Regions from separate parts of the Homo sapiens genome. Here all the other regions are linked to region 1. Evidence: promoter capture Hi-C in 16 types of primary human blood cells and fetal thymus (Javierre and others, 2016). All regions are on one chromosome and are shown on one strand. Each heading gives the region's core, a stretch centred on a gene start or on the middle of the fragment in contact. The rest is flanking DNA. Distances are from core to core; before and after follow the strand shown. Region 1 holds the start of RPS6 (ribosomal protein S6). Region 2 overlaps HAUS6 (HAUS augmin like complex subunit 6). Region 3 overlaps HAUS6 (HAUS augmin like complex subunit 6).

Region 1 (3,684 bases), core at 789-3,288:
AGGATTAACACCAACTGGGTATGCTGGCCACCCCCAAATATTTTCTGTAAAAACTCCAAGTGAATAGTGCTAAGGCCTTCCAAAGGCACATATTTATCTTCTGATATGCACACAAAATGATAGACAAATTACCAAAATTAAGCAAGCCCTAATTGCATAATCCCTCCTACCTTCTTTATTTAAGGGCTTTCTTACAACATACTGGCGGACATCATCTTCTTTAGAGAGATTGAAAAGTTTGCGGATTCTGCTAGCTCTTTTGGGGCCCAGGCGGCGAGGCACTGTAGTATCAGTCAGTCCAGGAATATCCTTCTCTCCTTAGAAGAAACAGTTGAAGAGATTTTAATTCAACAACTTCCTTAAGAATCCTAAATCAGAATGTTTAATGTTGAATTGATGGTAGAGAAACAAATCCATTGGTCTGTAAGTCTGGATACTGCAAATGAATAAGCATTTGGACAACTGGCTTTAAATCAATTTCAACGAAAATTGAACACAAGTAACCCTCACCTTTTTTTACAATAACCAAGTTGAGAACGCTCAGATTTGCATCCACAATGCAACCACGAACTGATTTTCTCTTTCTTTCTCCAGTTCTCCTTGGTCTGTAACAGGAATGCCCCTTACTCAGTAGCAGGCGGACACGGCCATGGGTCAAGACACCCTGCTTCATGGGGAAACCTTGTTTGTCGTTCCCACCACTGATTCGGACCACATAACCCTGCAAGAGCATACAATGAATGACACATTTACTATTTCTATTCCAAAATTATACAGTACAGGATTGTGACCTCTGTGAACACACCTATATGAGAAAGTATAATTATGAAAACCAATTTGAACTTAAGCACGTTTTCTCTGTTCAGTGAGTTTTGTCTATATTCCCAACTTGTCAAGTTCAATTATCAAATGTCTTTCAAGTCGCATTTCTAACCGATGTTTTATTAGAGATAACAGCACTAAGAAGATAAAATATCAAACAGCAACAAACAAATCAGATACAACCCTTTTTGGCACTTTGGGGATTATGAGGACAGCTATGTGACATATTGCCAAATGCATGATGCAGGGCAAGAATTATGTTGATGTAAACTTTACGTATATTTTATGGCTTACTCTACGTCCCCCCCTCCAAGGTAATACCTCTAACTTTATAAAGTGGCATTCGGAAGCAACTTACCAAAGGTCAGAAGCCAGAACCCGGAGTCTGAACCCCATTCCAAATACCAGTTACCAATGGCGTTTACCGTCTCTGACTTAAATACCTGCAACAATTTGTCAACTTTTACCTTCCATTCTTCACCCAGAGCGTCAGCAGCAACTTCTGTGGCCATACGCTTCTCATAGAAAGTACGAAGTTTGCGTTCATCGTCCACTTCAATGAGTTTCTGGCAGCCAGTGGCTGGGAAGGAGATGTTCAGCTAAGGATTAAAAGGGGGGAAATAGTTTACGAAACTATCTATACAGGTAATTGTAGAGCCATCTACAAAGTTAATTCCACTGCAAAAAGCCTTTCATGTTGCCTCCACACAAGCAGGAAATATAAGATGCCGACTGTACTCACTAAAAGCACGTGAAAGCAGAGTAGCAGTCAAGAAGCGCCGCACTCAGCAGGACGTTTTCCCCTCAAGCCCCGCGGAATGACTCTGGGGGCGAGGGCACTCCGCAGCCGTTCACCCTCCCGAAGCAAGAAAGCCGGGGTCAAGAGCCGCACCACAGGCCTGCCGCAAACTGGGCAACACGCCGCATCCGTCCCGGCTGGGCGCGGGGACGCCACCATGGCGCTCCCGGCCCGCCGCGGCTCCAGCCGCAATCGCCTGCCATCCGTTCGGCCAAAAAGCTCCATGCCCCAGAAAGGCGAGCCTTCTCCTACTTGAGACCCTTCTCCACCTAAAGCCAGGATCCTGGAGTGCTGGAACTGAGGCAATGCCGCGTTCTGGGACTCGATTCACGTTCCCCAAACCCAGTCTAACACTCGCCACCATCACCTACCTTCATCTTGAAGCAGCTGAACGCCTCCGAGGCGCCACGGAAAAGAGGGCCAACTTCCGCTTAGCGCAGGTCACATAGGCGCTTTCAGTTCTCGCGAGATGAGCAGAAGTACGGGATAGCGGAAGTGAGCATGGGTGGGCGGTACTTCCGGGCGAGATTAATCAGGGCCTGGGAGGTAAAGTCGGTTGGGTGTGGGTCTGAGGTTGTGCCAGTGGTGGTAGTCTGGTAAGGCAAACCCGCGTGTAATTCTGAGGGCTAACCCCTTCCCTGTCTAGTCTTTTCCACGCTGCCTGGGTTTTGGAGCTGGGCGCCAGCGGAGCCCCACTTCTGTCCCAGGCACTTTGCATCTGACGGTACCAAAATAGGAGGGCAAGGCCGGGCGCGGTGGCTCACGCCTGTAATCCCAGCACTTTGGGAGGCCGAGGCGGGCGGATCATCTTAGGTCAGGAGTTCGAGACCAGCCTGGCCAACATGGCGAAACTCCGTCTCTAATAAAAATAGGTAAAATAGCCAAAAATAGGTAAAATAGCCAGGCGTGGTGGGGGGCGACTGTAGTCCCAGTTACTAGGGAGGCTGAGGCACGACAATCGCTTGAGCCCAAGAGGCGGAGGTTGCAATGAGTCCAGATCGCACCACTGCACTGCAGCCCAGGCGACAGAGAGAGACTCCGCCTCAAAAAAGTTCGAGTTCGAGACCAAGTAAACAAGAATAATTTTTACTATCTAAAACTATCACATACCATCTCCCCACTTTAGTGTCACAAAGGTTTGAGTTTAGGACTGTTTTACATTCGAAGTTGAACGATTCTACTGAATCCTCTTTGATCATCTCACATTAATTCATGGAATCTTGGTGAAATGATGCTTTTTAAAATCTGAGTACTGTGTGTCATTTTTTTGTTGAGGTGAAATTGACATAACTAGTCATTTTAAAGTGAACAATTCAGTGGCATTTAGTACATTCACAATGCTGTACAACCACCATCTCTATCGATACAGTTCCAAAACATTTTCATCATCCTAAAAGAAAACCCTGTACCCTGTTAAAGCAGTTGCTGCCCCTTCCCCATTTCGACCAGGCCTGGCAACCACCAATCTGTGTTCTGTCTCAGTGGATGTACCTACTTCATAAAAATGGAATCATACAATATTGACCTTTTGTATCTGTCTTCTAATCTTTTGAGTCGTAGCATGTATCAGTACTTCACTGCTTTTATGGCTCAATATTCTAGTGTAGATATAGACTGCAGTTTGTTTATCCATTCCTCCATAAATAGACATTTGGGTTGTTTCTGCCTTTTAACTACTGTAAATAGTTCTTCTATGTTTGAGTACTTGTTTTAAATTATTTTAGGTATATACCTAAGAGTGAAATTGCTGGGTCATATAGTAGTTCTATTCTCAACTCAGGGAGAAACTGAAACTGTATTCCAAAGCAGCTGAACCATTTTACATTCCCACCGGCAATGTATGAGGACCGCACTTTATCAAAATCATGGCCAACACTTGTTATTTTTTTAATTTTTTAAAAATTTATTGTAGGGACAGGGTCTCGCTTTGTTGCTCAAAGTGAGATCCTGTTGGTCTGGAACTCTTGGCCTCCAGCATCCTCCTGTCTCAGCCTCTGGAGTAGCTGAGACTCATTGTGGTTTTGATTTGCATTTCCCTAATGACTAATGATGTTGAGCATGTT
Region 2 (3,684 bases), core at 399-2,898, 320 kb before region 1:
TTTTTGAAATGGATCACTTTTTTTAGCTGGCAAAGACCCTCCAAATGCACTACTCTCTGTATTCTTTGCAACATCTGATAATGGAGAATTTTCCACTTCAAATTCTGGTATTTTCTTAGAAATTGCTTCATTTTTTTCTTTGGGAGTTCCCATCTTTGTGTCCTGAAGAAGACAGATATGTAATGTTAAACCCTTAATAATCATGGCTGATCCTGAAGCTGTCTTCATTAGCAGTTCACTGGTTATCATGAACCTATAAAAGGTTGTTAATACTATTGTGAAATTGTATGTCACTGGCAGAATTAACTAATTCCAATATTCCCACTTAGCAATAAGGAATATAAGTAGATATGGTACAAAATGTACAAATAGTAGAAAATGTGAAATTAGAAATTAAATTTAACTGTGGTATCAACAAAAATAAATAATATTTTATAATTTAGTATGGTCCAGAATTAATTGAGACTTATTTTAAAATATACCTTTTCAAGTACTGTAACACTGTTTCTATCTGATGATGAAACTGACTGCGACAAGAAAGAGGCAGGGCTAAAAGGAAAAAAGACAACAAATCCAAGTTATAAGGAGAAAAGAATTCCATTCCCTTTACGAGTCTATTCTAAAATCTGTCTGCCCCGTATCTGTCCGTTACGATTTCACTCAATTCGTCCCGGTCATCAAAAGGCAGTTTATTCTAGGGAGGCATGGTGACAAGTAGAGCAGTATTTCAGCCCAATTTGTGTATCAGCCTCCCAATTATGAAGACTTTACTTACCACATACTGAGTCAACAATATTTTGATTTGAAAGAGTTAAGTGACTTAATGAATACTCCACAACTTGAACACAGGTTAAAAACAGATTCAATTAACTAGAACTGCATTATTACAATGTCACAGGTTCCAAATCACAGTTTCTTTGTAGCAGATCCTTTATTTTATTTTTTTTTTTTTTGAGACGGAGTTTCGCTCTTGTTGCCCAGGCTAGAGTGCAATGGCGCGATCTTGGCTCACCACGACCTCCGCCTCCCAGGTTCAAGCGATTCTCCTGCCTCAGCCTCCTGAGTAGCTGGAATTACAGGCATGCGCCACAACACCTGAGTAATTTTGTCTTTTTAGTAGAGATGGGCTTTCTCCATGTGAGTCAGGCTGGTCTCAAACTCCCGACCTCAGGTGATCCGCCCACCTTGGCCTCCCAAAGTCCTAGGATTACAGGTGTGAGCCACCACACCTGGCCCAGCAGACTTATTTTTAAGATTCTCTTGATACTTCATATCCAAAATCAATTTCTCATATGCTAAATTTTACTCTATAGCAAACATGTTACAGTTTCACAGTAATGTCATAAGGTCAGAGTTTTAGTTTGCCACATTCTGTTGTATTTGTTAATCTTTTGTATTCCCTTGCCCTTTTGGATAAATATTAAAATTTATGCAGCTTTTCATGCTAATTATAAAATGTTATTAAATTCTAAAATCTTCAAAGAAATGGTAACTTTTTTACTTTGGTCTTAAAAACCTTTAAAAGTTAAAAGCCTAAAGCTTTTCTACTCTAGTTACTATAAGACAGGATTATCAAAGACTGCTTTCAACAGCATGCATGTTGGTACTTTCCTTTCTTCTTATAACTAGAAGTACAAAATTAATAGCACTGCAAATATTTTATATCATAGTAAATGTAATTTTCAAACTTTTTCAAATATGCACTCTTAGAGTCTTTGCCTACGTTCCAAACATAATTCAAAATCACTGCAATCACTCAAGCTTCAACGTAGCATTGACAAAATATAATCCAGATATCAAAGGCAAAGAATTGATCATCTACTAGATTTTGAGGGAAACTTAACATTAAAATTATCAAAAAGCCCCCTGAAACAGAGCCAGCAATCTATGGACCAATGCCACTAAGGTGCCACCACCACAAGAAGGTAAGGACAAAGGCTATGTCTTTCCCTAAGGCTATTCCCAGAGGCTAACACAGTGGTTGGTAGTGCAATACATACATGTTAACTATTTGATGGATTGATGGAATCGATGAGTAAATGCCACTTGAGAATGGGGTTCTATAGGTGACAAGTGTTTCCATTTGAATGATTCTTGTGGAACCTTATAGCAGAGAACAATGGAAACATTCTGTACCCTCCCCTCTCTCATTTCTGAACTGGCAACATGCTATTAAACCTGCTAACATCATAATCTAAGACAAGTTTAAAGCAGCCCTGGCTCAGTCTTTATACTTCGTCCATTTGCCATGCCAAGATTGAGGCCTATGAAATCCTAGCACTGTAACAAAACAGAAGGATGGTGATCCCCTTGTGGAAATTTATCCTAAGGGAAGAACAGAGAGAAAAAAGAGGAACACACTTTTTATAGTAGTAAAAAATAAAATTGAGAGAAAATTCAAGTCTACAAATAAATGTAGTGTTACAAAGCTATTATCAATGAAAATTGGTTAATATGTTATTTAAACATACAGACAGCCAAAAAAAAATCACAACCGTTTATACTATGTTAATGTTTTAAAATTTTGGGCTGGGCGCGGTGGCTCACGCCTGTAATCCCACCACTTTGGGAGGCTGAGGCAAGCGGATCACCTGAGGTCAGGAGTTGAAGACCAGCCTCGCCAACATGATGAAACCCCATATCTACTAAAAATACAAAAATTAGCCAGGTGTGGTCATGGGCGCCTGTAATCCCAGCTACTCGGGAGGCTGAAGCAAGAGAATCGCTTGAACCCAGGAGGCAGCAGTTGCAGTGAGCCGAGATCGTGCCATTGCACTCCAGCCTGGGCAACAGGAACGAAACTCCGCCTCAAAAATAAATTAATGAATAAAATTTTGTACTTTAGAATTCTGCATTTTAAAATTTGTATTTAGATTGTATCCATCCTTTGATCACAGCCAAAAATTTTTTTTTTTTTTTTTTGAGACAGACTCTCACTCTGTCGCCCACACTGGAGTGCAGTGGCGGGATCCTGGCTCACTGCAACCTCCGCCTCCTGGGTTCAAGCACTTCTCCTGCCCCAGCCTCCTGAGTAGCTGGAATTACAGGTGCCGACCACCACACCTGGCTAATTTTTGTAGTTTTAATAGGGACAGGGTTTCACCATGTTGGCCAGGCTGTTCTCAAACTCCTGACCTCAGGTGATCTGCCTGCCTCAGCATCCCAAAGTGCTGGGATTACAGGCATGAGCCACCATGCCCAGCTAGAGCTAAATTTATATATCGTGGTATACAAAGCCTAGATAAGAACTTGGCGGGGCGGGGGAGGGAGTTACAAGTGATTCCTTAAAAACTTTAACCAATTATTTCTCATTTTTATTTGTTGCTGTTGTTATACCAATAATTAGGAGAAAAATAAAAATAGAAACTATAAAAAGAGAAAGATATGAGACTAGAATTCAATTTCTAACACAAATGACATTTAGCTGGCACGTATGCAAGATCATACTGCCCTCCTTATCTTTGAAATGTGGTATAGGAGAAAACATAGAAGTTAGATGTCTAGAACAACAGCATCATTACCGTTAGAAATATCATGGAACTCCCCCCCACACACACAAACACAAAAAGCCATTGCAAAGAATGCTAATGCTCACAGTGTACAGCAAAGGCATCACCAATTGCTGAATTCTGGTTTTAAGTATAATGCAGCCTCTCGCTCTGATCAGAACCAGAAATGGAAGCC
Region 3 (3,684 bases), core at 859-3,358, 300 kb before region 1:
TCACTGTTGTTGCCTTTGAGAATTTATAATGAACTAGTACAGTATCATCTTCCTACTAAGAAACTTCATACTGTCTGTACTATATGATGTAGTACTGTACAGGTAAGGGGCAATTAATAAAAGTGAATATAAATATACACACCTTTAACAGTATCACTCCTTATGAAAGTTTTACTAAACACACTCATAGAAATAAATTCTGGCCGGGTGCGGTGGCTCACGCCTGTAATCCCAGCACTTTGGGAGGCCAAGGTGGGTGGATCACCTGAGGTCAGGAGCTCGAGACCAGCCTGACCAACATGGAGAAACCCCGTCTACTAAAAATACAAAATTAGCTGGGTGTGGTGGCACATGCCTGTAATCCCAGCTACTCGGGAGGCTGAGGCAGGAGAATCTCTTGAACCTGGGAGGCGGAGGTTGCAGTGAGCTGAAACCACGCCACGCCATTGCACTCCAGCCTGGGCAATAAGAGCAAAATTCTGTCTCAAAAAAAAAACAAAAAACAAAAAACAAAAAACAAATTCTGAAAGCAGAAGAACATTGCAAGAAAATATACAATTACATGATAGGAGTTTTCTCAAAAGCTTCCTTAATATCAAATGCTTACCTGAAACATTTGTTTCTCAATTTTGTCAAGTAAGAGCCTTGGAATATTAATAGCAACATTAGTTCCATCTAAAGCATATTGGTTAACAAGACTAAGGACCGAACTAACAACTTCTCTCTCTTTTTCCAAAAACATGAGCGTTTCATTCACTGAAGCCCACAAAGACCGAACCTTTGGAAACAGAAACAAAATATTAAAGTCCACACATAATCTGTACATATTTTAAAAATGTAAATGTATGTTCACTCTTAGTAACAAATTTCCTAGAATGATTTCTAGTAAGAAAATTAAATAATTATACTTTAATAGTTTAAAAGTCCCTTTGGATATTATTTCCAAAGGGAATTTTTAAAAAAATGTATCAGGAGAATCTAGCTCACTATAATTTTCAAACAAATCTAAGAATTTTTTTGTTTTCAGAGATGGGGTCTTACTATGTTGCCCAGGCCAGACTCAAACTCCTGGGCTCAAGCAATCTTCCCACATCAGCCTCCCAAGTAGCTGGGACTACAGGCACGCACCACTGCACCCAGCTCCAAATCTAAGAAATCTTATACAAGATACAATTAGCATTTTCTATATGCTGACATGTAATTAATCGAATGAAGATCATTCAGGGAGAAATAATTTTAAAAATTTTTCAAGAGAAGCCGGGCGCAGTGGCTCACGTCTGTAATCCCAGCCCTTTGGGAGGCCGAGGCAAGCAGATCACGAGGTCAGGAGATAGAGACCATCCTGGCTAACACGGTGAAACCCCGTCTCTAATAAAAATACAAAAACTTAGCCAGGCGTGGTGGCAGGTGCCTGTAATCCCAGCTACTCGGGAGGCTGAGGCAGAAGAATGGTGTGAACCCGGCAGGCGGAGCTTGCAGTAAGCCAAGATCGCGCCACTGCACTCCAGCCTAGGGGACAGAGCAAGACTCCATCTCAAAAAAAAAAAAAAAATTTTTTTTCAAGAGAAAAAAACTACTACATCTCAATTTTAAGTCATTCAGTTTGAGGAAGTTAAAGTGTAAAAAATTATGCCTCATTAAAAGCAAAAAATCTTAGGCATATACTAATCTATATTCATTAAAATTGATATACAAGAATATTTAGGCACGCACAGTGGCGCATACCTGTAATCCCAGCTACTCAGAAGGCTGAGGTAAAAGGATCCCTTAAGCCCAGGATCCTTGCAAAAAAAAAAAAAAAAAGAATACTCATAGAATGTCTATTTGTAACAATCAAAAAGTAGAATCAATCCAAAGGTCCATCCAGAGTAAAAAGGGTACATTGGTGCTATATTCATAAAATAGAACACTAAGCAGCAATGAGAATAAACATACTACAATTACACACAACAGCATGGATAAATATCATAAACAATGTTGAGCCAAAGTCAGACACAAAAGAATATATTCTATATACTGGCATTTATATGAAGTTCAAAAACAGGCAAAACTAATCTTTAGTGTAACATGTGAGGGCACTGTTTCCCCGTGGGGGCAAACAGTGTAAACTAAACAGGTTCAAGGAGGATTCTAGGGTGCTGGTAACATCCTATTCCTTAAATGATGATGGTTACATGGACTTGTTCACTTTGTGAAAATTTGTCAAGCTATATACTTATGAGTTACACATTTCTTGTATATATGTTATGCATTAACAGAATTTACAAAAGAGGGAGGGAGGTGGAGAAATATAATTATACACATGTTCTTCCTGCACGATAAAAATACAATATTAAATATCTCTAATTAGTTCACTTTTTTTCTTTTTTCTTTTTTTTTTTTTTTGAAACAAGGTCTCACTCTGTCACCCAGGCTGGAGTGCAGTGGCACAATCTTGGCTCACTGCAACCTCTGCCTCCCAGGTTCAAGTGATTCTTGTGCCTCAGTCACCCAAATAGCTGGGACTACAGGTGAGTACCACCACACCAGACTACTTTTTTATTTTTGGTAGAGACAGGGTTTCACCATGTTGGCCAGGCTGGCCTCAAACTCCTGGCCTCAAGTGATCCAACCATATCGGCCTCCCAAAGTGCTCACAGGCGTGAGCCACTGTACCCCCGCCTCTTTTTTTTTTCTTTTTTAAGACGGGTCTCGCTCTGTTGCCCAGGCTACAGTCCACTGGCACAACCAGAGCACACTGCAGCCTTGAGCTCCTGGGCTCAAACAATCCTCCTGCCTCAGCCTCCTGAGTAGGTGAAACTATAGGTGTGTGCCACCCTAAATATCTCTGACATGTTGTATGGCAAGGTAAAGTTGTTCCCAAAGGAAGACTCATTGGCTAGCAGTCTAGAGGTCTCACAGAATGGCATTTCCTTGATGAATCTGTAATTGTCCAGGATCTGGTTCTCATATTTTCCAAGTCTAGATTTTTATCTTGACAATGGCTCAAAGTTGACTGTACTCAGGGAAAACAAATATGAACCAAACTCAGAAGAGACTGATGTGAAAACTTTAATAGGTTCTGCAAATTATTTTAATTATATAATTTGCAATCAGAGATTCATTAAATGGAAAATTCCATGAAGGAAGTGACTTTGCCTTGCCTGTTCTCCTCATTGTTGTAGCCCTAATGTCTACGAGATACCTAGCACATATCAGATGATCAATACATTCACTGAATAAAAATATTTCCTGAAGAGGGCGCTAACCTTTACAGGTGACAATGTGCCTTGGAAGCCAAATTTATACCCACAGCAGCTTGGCATGGCAATCACAGAATCACAACAAAGAGCTTGAGAGAGATTTTATCCAAAAAAAAAAAAAAAGAAAACCTAAGAAAATACTTAACTCACATCAAAGCCAAACTCTGGAGGCCTCAGATCATTTTCATTTGTCAGAATCCTCCCTCCTGCCAAACCAGACTCATTTTGATTCCTCATTTTCCTTTCATACTTAACATCTCCCTTCAGTTAATCCATTTTATTTAGATAAATTAATACCACTGACTAGGTTATACTACAATCAAGCAGAGCTTTTTGTACTGGGGTGGAGAATTTCAAATTAATCATGTCTAAAAACCCTTTTGAATATAATTAAGCTTATGAACTATAAGTTCATTTTTCCATTATATTCAAGTGTTTTAGA

What was found. Contacts are between HindIII fragments. The CHiCAGO score rates a contact against its expected background, and 5 or more counts as called.
Region 2: a contact is called between a fragment that was not itself captured here and the fragment with the promoter of RPS6 in region 1, in 15 of 17 cell types (erythroblasts, activated CD4 T cells, fetal thymus and 12 more). The highest score is 13.5, in erythroblasts.
Region 3: a contact is called between a fragment that was not itself captured here and the fragment with the promoter of RPS6 in region 1, in 9 of 17 cell types (total CD8 T cells, non-activated CD4 T cells, erythroblasts and 6 more). The highest score is 11.0, in total CD8 T cells.

Annotation. Positions count from the first base shown.
Region 1 is chr9:19,378,198-19,381,881 of GRCh38, forward strand. It overlaps RPS6 (ribosomal protein S6), which reads right to left and starts at 2,039. Exons shown (of 6, transcript NM_001010.3): 1 at 1,993-2,039; 2 at 1,290-1,421; 3 at 511-721; 4 at 171-317. The coding sequence starts at 1,998. RefSeq lists an enhancer at 1,354-2,553. The HindIII fragment of the contact is 12,269 bases long and covers 1-3,684 here.
Region 2 is chr9:19,063,032-19,066,715 of GRCh38, forward strand. It overlaps HAUS6 (HAUS augmin like complex subunit 6), which reads right to left. Exons shown (of 17, transcript NM_017645.5): 13 at 483-549; 14 at 1-162. It also overlaps SCARNA8. Among named protein-coding and RNA genes, the nearest start is that of RRAGA, 15 kb to the left of the region's middle. The HindIII fragment of the contact is 222 bases long and covers 1,538-1,759 here.
Region 3 is chr9:19,082,266-19,085,949 of GRCh38, forward strand. It overlaps HAUS6 (HAUS augmin like complex subunit 6), which reads right to left. Exons shown (of 17, transcript NM_017645.5): 8 at 608-778. Among named protein-coding and RNA genes, the nearest start is that of HAUS6, 19 kb to the right of the region's middle. The HindIII fragment of the contact is 3,053 bases long and covers 583-3,635 here.